3 separate regions of the Homo sapiens genome follow, and all the other regions are linked to region 1. The links are contacts of gene promoters, found by promoter capture Hi-C in human tissues and cell types (Jung and others, 2019). All regions are on one chromosome and are shown on one strand. Each heading gives the region's core, a stretch centred on a gene start or on the middle of the fragment in contact. The rest is flanking DNA. Distances are from core to core; before and after follow the strand shown. Region 1 holds the start of KCNK17 (potassium two pore domain channel subfamily K member 17). Region 2 has its middle 25 kb from the start of KCNK5. Region 3 has its middle 33 kb from the start of KCNK17.

Region 1 (3,454 bases), core at 1-2,500:
GAATGGCTGGCAGGGAGCATCAAAGAGAGGGGAGACCTGGGCAGAGACTTTGGAACAATCTTAGTGAAAAGAGGATCTCTGCCCTCAGGAAGCTCTCAGCCGAGGGGCAGGCGAGCTGCCTCTCAAAGCTCGCCAGCTCCCCTTGCCTAGAAGTCCAGGGCTGTCTGTGAACAAAGCTTAGGACCTCTTGGGTGTCCTACCCACTTTCCTGAACATGGCCTCCCCTGACCCTCACAGGCCACCCCCTTAACTTCATCACTCCCTCTGGGCTCCTGCCTTCTCAAGAGCCTTTCCAAACACCCCATGGGAAGCCAGAGAGCCAGCAGATCCCAGGATCCTTCCAGAAAGTGAGCTCCATGAACGTCTGGCCTCTCTCAGGAATGCATTCTCCAGGTCTGGCCTTTCCCCTGCCAGACTGCAACATCCCTGACCAGGAGAGATTTAGACCACTCCATCCCGGGGCCTGGAAATTTTGGCCTTTGCCTCTCCCATCATCCAACAGCAAGTGGGCTCCTATGTGGCTGGGTTCCTCTGCACAGGTCTGAGGCAAGGCTGTGGAGCCAAGGCGGCTCCAGGCAGGAGACCCAGGAGAGGCTCTACAGCAGCAAGAGGAGTCCAAGTCACACCCCAGGACTTCCCCATATCCAAGAAAGGACTGGGAAGCTGAGGACCCACGGACTCTTCACACAGCCTAGACGCTTCCTCCACTCCAGGTAGAGGGATTTCGGGGGCCTTCTCAGAAGCAAGGAGTGGACAAGCCTCTTGGTTAAGGCTCCTCTTACCTCCCAAGCTCATGGACAAGTGGCAATCAGCTGGGGTCCCTCTTTTGGGGTACAAAGGAAAGGACAGAGGTGTGGGAGACCCAAGGTGGTCTTGAGATTGACAGACAGCAAGTCCTTGGAGATAGCCCCCGAGTCCAAGAACTTAGGCAGGGGCCCCAAGACAATAAAGTTGGTCTCTACTATCTCCTACCTCTGAGTGCGGTTTCCAGAAGTCCCTCCCATTGTTCATTTCAGGAAATGTGAGGGGGCTCTGGGCCCCTTCCCTCAGCGCCTGCGGTCACCCAGCAGCTTCCTCCTTCTCCCTGGCCTAGGCCTAGCAGGTGGGCACCCCGCACACATTTGAGGCGGGGCCAGATGCCCACAGTTCAGAGCCTCTTTTTGTCCCGGGGATTGGATCCCAGGGCTGGGTGGGGCCAGGCTGTCCCATTCCCCAACACTCCTCCTCCCCGGCGAAACCGGGCACCAGCAGGCGTTTGCGAGAGGAGATACGAGCTGGACGCCTGGCCCTTCCCTCCCACCGGGTCCTAGTCCACCGCTCCCGGCGCCGGCTCCCCGCCTCTCCCGCTATGTACCGACCGCGAGCCCGGGCGGCTCCCGAGGGCAGGGTCCGGGGCTGCGCGGTGCCCAGCACCGTGCTCCTGCTGCTCGCCTACCTGGCTTACCTGGCGCTGGGCACCGGCGTGTTCTGGACGCTGGAGGGCCGCGCGGCGCAGGACTCCAGCCGCAGCTTCCAGCGCGACAAGTGGGAGCTGTTGCAGAACTTCACGTGTCTGGACCGCCCGGCGCTGGACTCGCTGATCCGGGTCAGGGGCGAGCGGCGTCGGCCTGGGCGCGGCGGGATGGGGTAGCGGGCCGCGGGGTGTACGGGCCGAGGGCGAGGGGGCCTATTCAGGCCCTGGTCAGGTGTTTCCTGTTCAGGGAAACGTCGGGAACGCAGACGCGGGCACAACGGGGGTGGGCGTTCCTGCGCGGGGACCAGAGGGTTGGGGGACCTCGGAGGAAAAGACCCTCGCCCTAGCGAGAGGACTGCGAGAAGCCGGGCTGAGTCCTACTTGGGGGCGAGAGGGCATGCTGGCCCGGTGAGGAGGCAGATGCCTGGGGACACATCCAAATTTGGGGGCGAGGACGACTACGGCAGGGGGCGCGCGCGTAACCGGCCCCGCCCGGCCTGACCCGGGAAAGGGCGCGTTTGAGCCTGCTTGGGGGTTGGTCGCACCCGCACCCGTGGCAAAGAGCTAAACGCCACACCTGGCCGCTTCCAGAGGGGGAACCCGGGCGCACGTTTGCGAACTGGGAGCTGGGACGGCAGGGGCGCCGGGTCTAAGGATGCGCAGGAGCGAGGGCGCGGCCGTAGGAGCCTGGGGGAAGGCGCGTTTGTCCCGGAGGGTGGGTGGATTGGGCCCGAGGCGTGCTGGTCGGGGCCACCCTCAACGCAGAGAGGGGGCTCGACGTGCGCAGACCCGGGTTCGAGAGGAGGGCGGACGCAGGGCCGCTCTCTGGCTGAACCCGCTTTACTCCGAGTCTTCGGACACAAGGACTGGGCGCGCCGCCGCCGCGCGGCTGCCCAGAAAGGCTGAAGGCAGGGTTCAGGGGAGGACTCAGAGGTAAATCTGAGCAGAGGCTCCTCAAGGGTGGGGCCTAGCAGGGCGGAGGAGGCCGGGGAGGGTTCTAGGGGTGGCGCATCTTAGGACTGAAGCGACGCCAGACTGGCAGCTGCTCGATTTGGCGGAGGCATTGATGTCCTGGGTCCTGGCTTGGTTCCCCACCCCTTCGTCCAAGAGCCCAGAGTCCAGACAGCTGCGCGCCAGCCCAGAATCCCCGTCTTGCAGTCCTGGTGGCTTATCCGTCCAGAGTCTCCAGTCCAAAGCCAATCCCCGGAAGGTGGCAGGGAACCGTGCCAGGGTGGGAAGGGACCCAGCGCGGAGCGGAAGTGGTGTTCTGAACCCTCGGACTAGGCCGATTCGGTGAGGTCAGGAGGTAGCCAGGGCCAGGCCTATCTCTACTAAGGACCTAAAGTGATTCCTCCAGCTCCCCACCTGCGGACTTCTGCAAATACAGCCCGACTGCTGGGTCCTGGTGCTGAGGCTGCCTGCCATTACCCTTGCAAAGGTGGTGAACTTCGACTACAAGCAGCCTGGGCCCAGGGAGATGGCTATGATGGTGATTATAATAACAGTAAATGCCTCTGTGCAGCACTTATCGTGTGCCAAGCACTGTTGCTGGTACTTTACCCGTATTCATTTGTCTCACCTCCCTCACAGGTGGGTACTGTTTTTATCATCCTGTTTCACCCTCACAGGTGGGTACTGTTTTTATCATCCTGTTTCAGAGGTGAAGAAACAGGCTCAGAGAGGTTACATACGAATGCATGGCTACATAGCCAGGAGCTGGAGCTGTTAACCAGCATAAATACTGCCTCAGTGTGGACCTGTGGATGTGGGTGCTTCCCAAGATTCCCAGCCAGGCTGTCATCTCTTTGGGCTTTCCCTTCAACTCCCTCCACCCCCACCTCACCCCCTTCCTCAACACTCCTGTGGCTTCAGCCAACTCCAGGAATAAGGATGTGGTATCCAGCCCAGATCTTTCTGAGCACCAGATGTGGACATGCAACTTCTGAAATTCCTCAAGGCCAAGAGCAAGTGGTCCTCCTCCTCCCAGCCCTGCTTCTCCAC
Region 2 (3,454 bases), core at 379-2,878, 60 kb after region 1:
TTAGACTTTAAAATAGCTATAGATATCTGTGTGTTGTGTATGTATAATGTATGTGTATCTATGTATAGTTAATCTTTTTTTTTTTAAGACAGAGTCTCACTCTGCTGCCCAGACTGAAGTGCCGTGGCATGATCTCAGCTCACTGCAACCTCCACCTCCCAAGTTCAAGTGATTCTTCTGCCTCAGCTTCCCGAGTAGCTGGGATTACAGGCATGCACTACCACGCCCAGCTAGTTTTTGTATTTTTAGTAGAGACAGGGTTTCACCGTGTTGGCCAGGCTGGTCTCAAACTCCTGACCTCAGGTGATCTGCCCGCTTCAGCCTCCCAAAGTTCTGAGATTACAGGCATGAGCCACTGTGCCCGGCCAATTGATCTTCATTATTCAGGGATTCTGTATATATAAATTTGCCCTGTTGCTAAAATTTATCTGTAACTGCAAAATCAATACCCATGGCACTTTTGCAGTCATTCTTGCACATGTACAAAGCAGGGGAAAATATGAGTTGCCTGGTGTACATGTGGCCCCAGCTGAGGTTGAACAAGGCGACACTCTGCCTTCTCATTTCAGTGCTTTACTGTAAACAAGTGTCCTTTTTGTGGTCTATTTGGTGTCATATTTTTTCATTTTTGTACTTTTCCTTGGTGCTTTTGCTGTTGAAAATAGACCTCAACTACACTGCTGCAGAACTGTTTAGATTGCCTAAGCACAAGAAGGCTGTGATGTGTTCGTGGTGAAAGAATATACATGGTAGATAAGCTTTGTTCCAGTAGAAGTTATAGTGCTGGTGGCCATGAGTTCGATGTTCATGAATCAACCATGTATATTAAATGAGCTGTCTTCAAACCGAAACACACATAAAATGAGGTTCTGTATTGGTTGTTTGATGAAAATGTTGTGACCAGAGAGGCTCATGGAACCTAACCCTGTACTTGTCCTAGGAGCAATGTGTCAGTATTTGCCAATTCGTGTTGCCACTGAATTAGCAAATGATGGAAATTGGTTGTGTATGTATGTGTGTATGTGTGTGTATCCTAGCTCTAATCTTTGAGAGGGCCTAGAAGTAATGTCACCCCAATAACCACAAGCACACCAAGCTCTCAGATCTTGGTTTCTAAACATCACTCTTCACAAAAAGGAACCAGGGCTCCCTATTCCAGGGCTGAAGCAAGGAAAGTGCAAAAGAGCCTGGAACATTTTATCATGCCAGAAAGTAAGAAAACGCTCCAAGAATGATGGGGACAAGTCAAAGGACACAAGGGGCCAGCTTGAAGGGGGTCGGTTTGGCCCATTCTGGGACAATTTGACCACCAAAATAAACAATAATATTAACAGATTTCAACCACCTACGTAAAATAGGAATCCATGAGTCCATCCTGATATAAACAAACAAACAACTGGGAGAGAAAGGAAGGTTTTTTCTTATAGTAGAATGCCAACTACTAAATGGTAGAAGGAACTATAGAAATAGAAAAATCACCACTGGCAACCACCATACTGGTGTTTGATTCAGATGGGAGTTGTCAACAGATGTCAAAGCTGGTGCACAGAGGTTTGAAGAGGATTGGCATATTGGCATAATCTCACATTATCTCTCCACAAAATACTTATTAATTACAAAAGGGAGATGGGGACTCTGGTGGAGAAGCCTGGAAGACACCAACTTGACCAAGGGACAAAGGTCCAGAAACATTTCTGTGGTATTTATTGTCAAAACTGCATGTATGGCCTGCGTCTGGTCATGAGGAAACACCAAAGGAACTCAAGTTGAAGGTCATCCAATGGAATAAAAGGCCTGACCTTTTTAAGACTGCTAAGGATACAAAATGCAGGGAAAGACGAAGAAACTGTTGTAGATTGAAGAAGATGGGTGACACATGACAACTAAATGTAATGCATGGTCCTGGATTCCCTCCTGGACTTCTCCCCTCCCCCACCACCCCCCGTAAAATGGACATTCTTAGGACAATGTGCAACACTTGAACAGGATCTGTAGATTGAATGGTTTCCTGTGCCAAGGTCAATTCCCTAATTTGAAGAGCTGATGAAGAATTTAGGTAGGTGATTATTCTTATATTGATGGGCATCATGTCTGCATCTCAAATTCAGAAAAAGATGAATGGAAAGGCCAAGCGCAGTGGCTCATGCCTGTACTTCCAGCCCATAGGGAAATGGAAGCAGGAAGATTTGTTGAGGCCAGGGGTTCAAGACCAGCCTGGGCAACATCGTGAAAACCACCCCCATACACACACACAAAGAATTTTAAAAATTATTCAGTCATGGTGGCACATGCCTATAGTCTCGGCTACTCAGGAGGCTGAGGCTGGAATATCACTTGAGCCCAGGAGTTCAAGATTGCAGTAAGCTACAATTGCACCAATGCACTCCAGCCTGGGTGATAGAGTAAGGCACTGCCTCAGACAAAAAAAAAAAAGAAAAGAAAAAGATGAATGGGCGTATATAAAAAGAGAGGATGATAAAGTAGATGTGGTGAAATGTTCCAGAATCAGGGTGCAAGGCTGGTTCAACATACGCAAATCAATAAACGTAATCTATCACATAAATAGAGCTAAAGACAAAAACCACATGATTATCTCAATGGACACAGAAAAGGCCTTTGATAAAATTCAATATCCCTTCATGTTAAAAACTCTCAATAAACTAGGTATTGATGGAACATACCTCAAAATAATAAGAACTATTTATGGCAAACCCACAACCAGTATCATATTGAATGGGCAAAAGCTAGAAGCATTCCCTTTGAAAACAGGTACAAAACAAGGATGCTCTCTCTCAGCACTGCTATTCAACATAGTATTGGAAGTTCTGGCCAGGACAATCAGGCAAGAGAAAGAAATAAAGCGTATTCAAATAGGAAGCGAGGAAGTCAAGTTGTCTTCCTCTCTTTTGCAAGGAAGACAACAAGATTTTGCAAGAAAGACAACAAAGTTTGCAGACAACAAGATTTTATATTTAGAAAAACCCATCATCTCAGCCCCAAAACTTCTTGAACTGATAAGCAACTTCGGCAAAGTCTCAGGATACAAAATCAATGTGCAAAAATCACAAGCATTCCTTTACACCAACAATAGGCAAACAGAGAGCTAAATCATGAATGAACTCCCATTTGCAATCTCTACAAAGAGAATAAAATACCTAGGAATGCAGCTAGCAAGTAATGTGCAGGACCTTTTCAAGGAGAACTACAAACTACTGCTCAAGGAAATAAGAGAGGACACAAACAAACGGGAAAACATTCCATCCTCATGGATAGGAAGAATCAATATCGTGAAAATGGCCATACTGCCCAAAGTAATTTATAGATTCAGTGCTATTCCCATCAAACTACCATTGGCATTCTTCACAGAACCAGAAAAAAACTATTTTAAATTTCATATGGAATCAAAGAAGATCCCATATAGCCAAGACAATCCTAAGCAAAAAGAACTAAGCTG
Region 3 (3,454 bases), core at 578-3,077, 33 kb after region 1:
AGTCAGCATTGAGACAGAGCTGAGAGACGAGGAGGGTGAGATTGGCAAACCAGTTAAACTTTATATGAGGAGTCTGGTGTGAAGTCATGGAAGGAAGGGTTTTAAGCAAAATAATGTGATAAGATTTGTATAAAGCCTACCTTGAATAAAGTGAAATGGATTCAAGAAGCATTTGAGAAGCAGAAATATTGGGTCTTGTTGATGTATTGGGTATGGAGGAGGGAAAGGGAAGCTTCCCCCAGGTGCTCACAGCACCTCCTTCTCAGGGTTTGCCCAGATTCTGGCCAGGAGGCCACAGCCACTGCCAGGAGCCAGCACAGCCCACTGCATGCCTGCAAAGGCGGGCCATGGCAGGACAAGACCTCCTGGAATGGGATGAGACATGCACTCCCAACTGTCCACAGCTTCACTAGGGCCTTCATCCGTGAGCAGGATTCCCGTCTGTTCTCTCCCCAGGAGCAGAGCTCAGTAGCCTCTGACAAAGGGACTTCTCAGCCAATGATGCGGGAGTAGAGGCCTAGCAGGCTGGAGGGCAGTGGGGAGGAGGAGCTGCAGGGCATCCTGCAGCCAGAGAGCACCCCCTGGGTGAACAGGTGACCCAATCTGCCTTCCACAGGAATCACCAGGAAAGGTGAGGCCAGGAAGGATAGAGACGCTTCTTGCACACCTGAGTGGGGAGATGCGTCTGCATTGGGACCAAATCTGAAGTTACCTGGGCCCCTGGGCCACCTGCTCTGGGCACCCAGCACTAGCACCATTGTGCCCAGGGCAGGAAAGCCACAGGATGAATGTGCCCCACCTTCCTAGAGCAGCAATTTGGCTCAAAGAATGTGAGGAAAATATTATTTTCACATTAAACAGTATGATGAAGTAGAATGTAAGATGCCTGTGTGGATATTCAATAAACGGAAGACTTGCGATCCCACTGGTGCTCTGGGTTGGCTGTTTTGAGCCAAGCCCACGCCCACACACAAGCCTTCAGGGGAATGTGGTGTGGCTCCTTCAGGTGCCTCTCTGGTGGAAAAGTCTGAGGAAGATCACAGGCTTCGTTAACACCCGCAGTCCCGAGGATGGCTCTGCAACAGGATCTGCTGCTGGGAACGAACAGCAGTGTGTGGAAGGGGCCCCCAGGCCACACAGGTGTCACCTCAAGGAGCAGCTCCCGGTCACCCACAGCACTGAGAGGTGGTGGAAGTGTTGGTAGTGTCTTTCACTGGTGGAAGGTGACCTCTCCTGGAGCTGGTCTAGGCTCCCAGCAGGTCGTTCCTGTCACCTATCCTGCCATGGCAGCGCAAGTCAGTTCTCTCTAGCCGGCAGCTCCCATTGGGGATTGCAGCCAAGGAGAGTCCAGGTGGACTTTAGTCAGCCAGCAGTGGAGAGGAGACAGGAGAGAAGCCCCTCCTTGCACAGTTGACTTGGGCTCTGGTTTTGCTGGCAGTGCCCAGTTCTGGCACCTTTGCCCCCTGGTCAATGAGTACCAGGGTGGCTCTGGGTCAGAACAGTGACCAAAGGGCTGGGTGGGAGTGGACAGGTAGTGGGAGGGGCAGTGAGAGATGCAGGAAAGGGCTGTAGCCCTTTGTGGTCTGACTGAGAGAAGGAGAAAGGAACGAAGAGCAAGCACAAGCACGGGGGAGAAATGAGGGACTTTCTGTGTCGTCATCTTTTCCTGGTGTGAGGAGAGACCCTACCAGGCGGACCCAGGCCATCTGCTCTGCTCTAGTCCGTGGGCCCAATAGGACCTCTGCAGAGGTACCCAATGGCCCATGGCTACAGTGGACCTGGTACAGAAGAAAGAGAGCTGTACCCACTCCTCAGGAAGCCCCAGTAGAAGGGATAGAACGAAGATACAGCCCCGTCCTCAGGGCCCTAGTCTGAGGGGAGACGCAGCCCCGTCCTCAGGGAGCCCCAGTCTGAGGGGAGACGCAGCCCTCTCCTCAGGGAACCCTAGTCTGAGGGGAGACGCAGCCCTCTCCTCAGGGAACCCTAGTCTGAGGGGAGACGCAGCCCCGTCCTCAGGGAGCCCCAGTCTGAGGGGAGACGCAGCCCTCTCCTCAGGGAACCCTAGTCTGAGGGGAGACGCAGCCCCGTCCTCAGGGAGCCCCAGTCTGAGGGGAGACGCAGCCCTCTCCTCAGGGAACCCTAGTCTGAGGGGAGTGGTCTCCTTAGGTCCCTGCAAAGGCCCTTGCCTCCCTCACCACCTGTACTTCTGTGGCTTTGCTCCAAATTCATATAAACTGAGATGGGAAATCCTAGGAACTGAAACACTGTTAATCACCCTTTATTATTGCCCTTCCCTGGGTGACTCAGCCGTAGGAAAATCACAGCTCCTGAAGTGAACCCGGAAAGAAAACTGAAAGGGAGAGTGATGAGTGAGAGTCAGCTACTGCCACAGCCTTGGCAGCCACATAGCCTTGTCCCCAGAGGTTGCTGCTCTCAGCTGGTCACAGGCAGCTCCTGTACGGACAGAGGCAATGGGGTGGGTCTGGGCCAGGGGACGCCCAGTCCCCAGGGAGCCCCTGCAGCAGGGCTGGCCCTAGATCCATGCAGGGGCCAATGCACAGTGGTGAAAGCCTGGGGTGATCTCAGGGCCAGTGATTTGCTGTCCAAGCCTCTGACTCCTGCCCTTCCTGACTCAACCACATCCGGTTTGGGCTCTTGCAGGCTCCCACCTGGAACGCCCTCTCTTCCCTCCTGCGTGCCACACCCCGCTCTCTGGCAGCCCCTGATGTCCTCCTCAGAGCTGTCCTCACACCCTCTGTCTCAGCCCTTCTGGGTACTTGCTGTCACCTGACTGACTTGGGGTATGTGGGGTCTTTTGTCTTTTCTTCTCACTTGGACCCTGAAGCCTCAAGAACAGGTGCTTCCTGCAACAGAATGTGCTCAGCCCTTAGGAAAACCTGAATGAAGGAAGGAAGAAGGAAAACCAGAACCCAAACTTTTAGTTTTCTTGGCAGAACCAGAGATTGGGGGCCATGAAATGCTACGGGACACTGACCTGGCTGCCTTTCCCTAGGAGTGTGAGAGGACGAAACTTCTCCAAGCTAAAGGGGGCTTAGAAATCACTTGAAAACAAGCTCTTTTGAGGGGAAGGACCGGCCAAGGCCACCCTGCTTGCCAGCAGCAGAGCGAATGCTCATGCCGGGGTCTGCTGCCTCACTCCCTCTGCCTGACCCTCCACCCTTGTACCTGGACCCTGGGCTTTGGGCCAGGCTGAAACCCAGAGCAAGACATACTGTTCTGTGCTACTCCAGTGGGGCGAGGCGGGCAAGGCAGCCATGGCAGTGGCTGACCTGCTCCACCCACAGTGGGCACATTTCATCACCATGAGGGCTGGTAGCTTCTGTGGCCCAGGGAAAGCTATGCTTTGCAAACACTGAGCTACCTGGATCCCCATCCTGGTTCTTATGCAAGCACTCGGAACATTCCAGCCCCAGCCAGTGGTGAGAGCACAGCT

Evidence for each region. The method cuts DNA at HindIII sites, captures the fragments that hold promoters and counts their contacts. A contact is called where the count stands out against the background at its distance.
Region 2: a contact is called between a fragment that was not itself captured here and the fragment with the promoter of KCNK17 in region 1, in 1 of the 25 tissues and cell types used here (mesendoderm cells).
Region 3: a contact is called between a fragment that was not itself captured here and the fragment with the promoter of KCNK17 in region 1, in 2 of the 25 tissues and cell types used here (small bowel and spleen).

Annotation. Positions count from the first base shown.
Region 1 is chr6:39,312,215-39,315,668 of GRCh38, reverse strand. It overlaps KCNK17 (potassium two pore domain channel subfamily K member 17), which reads left to right and starts at 1,250. Exons shown (of 5, transcript NM_031460.4): 1 at 1,250-1,585. The coding sequence starts at 1,349. LOC105375047 (a long non-coding RNA gene) reads right to left here and starts at 1,713. Exons shown (of 3, transcript XR_926774.3): 1 at 1,445-1,713. It also overlaps a transcript of KCNK16 not described here. The HindIII fragment of the contact is 22,753 bases long and covers 1-3,454 here.
Region 2 is chr6:39,252,445-39,255,898 of GRCh38, reverse strand. No RefSeq gene overlaps it. Among named protein-coding and RNA genes, the nearest start is that of KCNK5, 25 kb to the right of the region's middle. The HindIII fragment of the contact is 9,224 bases long and covers 1-3,454 here.
Region 3 is chr6:39,279,533-39,282,986 of GRCh38, reverse strand. No RefSeq gene overlaps it. Among named protein-coding and RNA genes, the nearest start is that of KCNK17, 33 kb to the left of the region's middle. The HindIII fragment of the contact is 5,777 bases long and covers 1-3,454 here.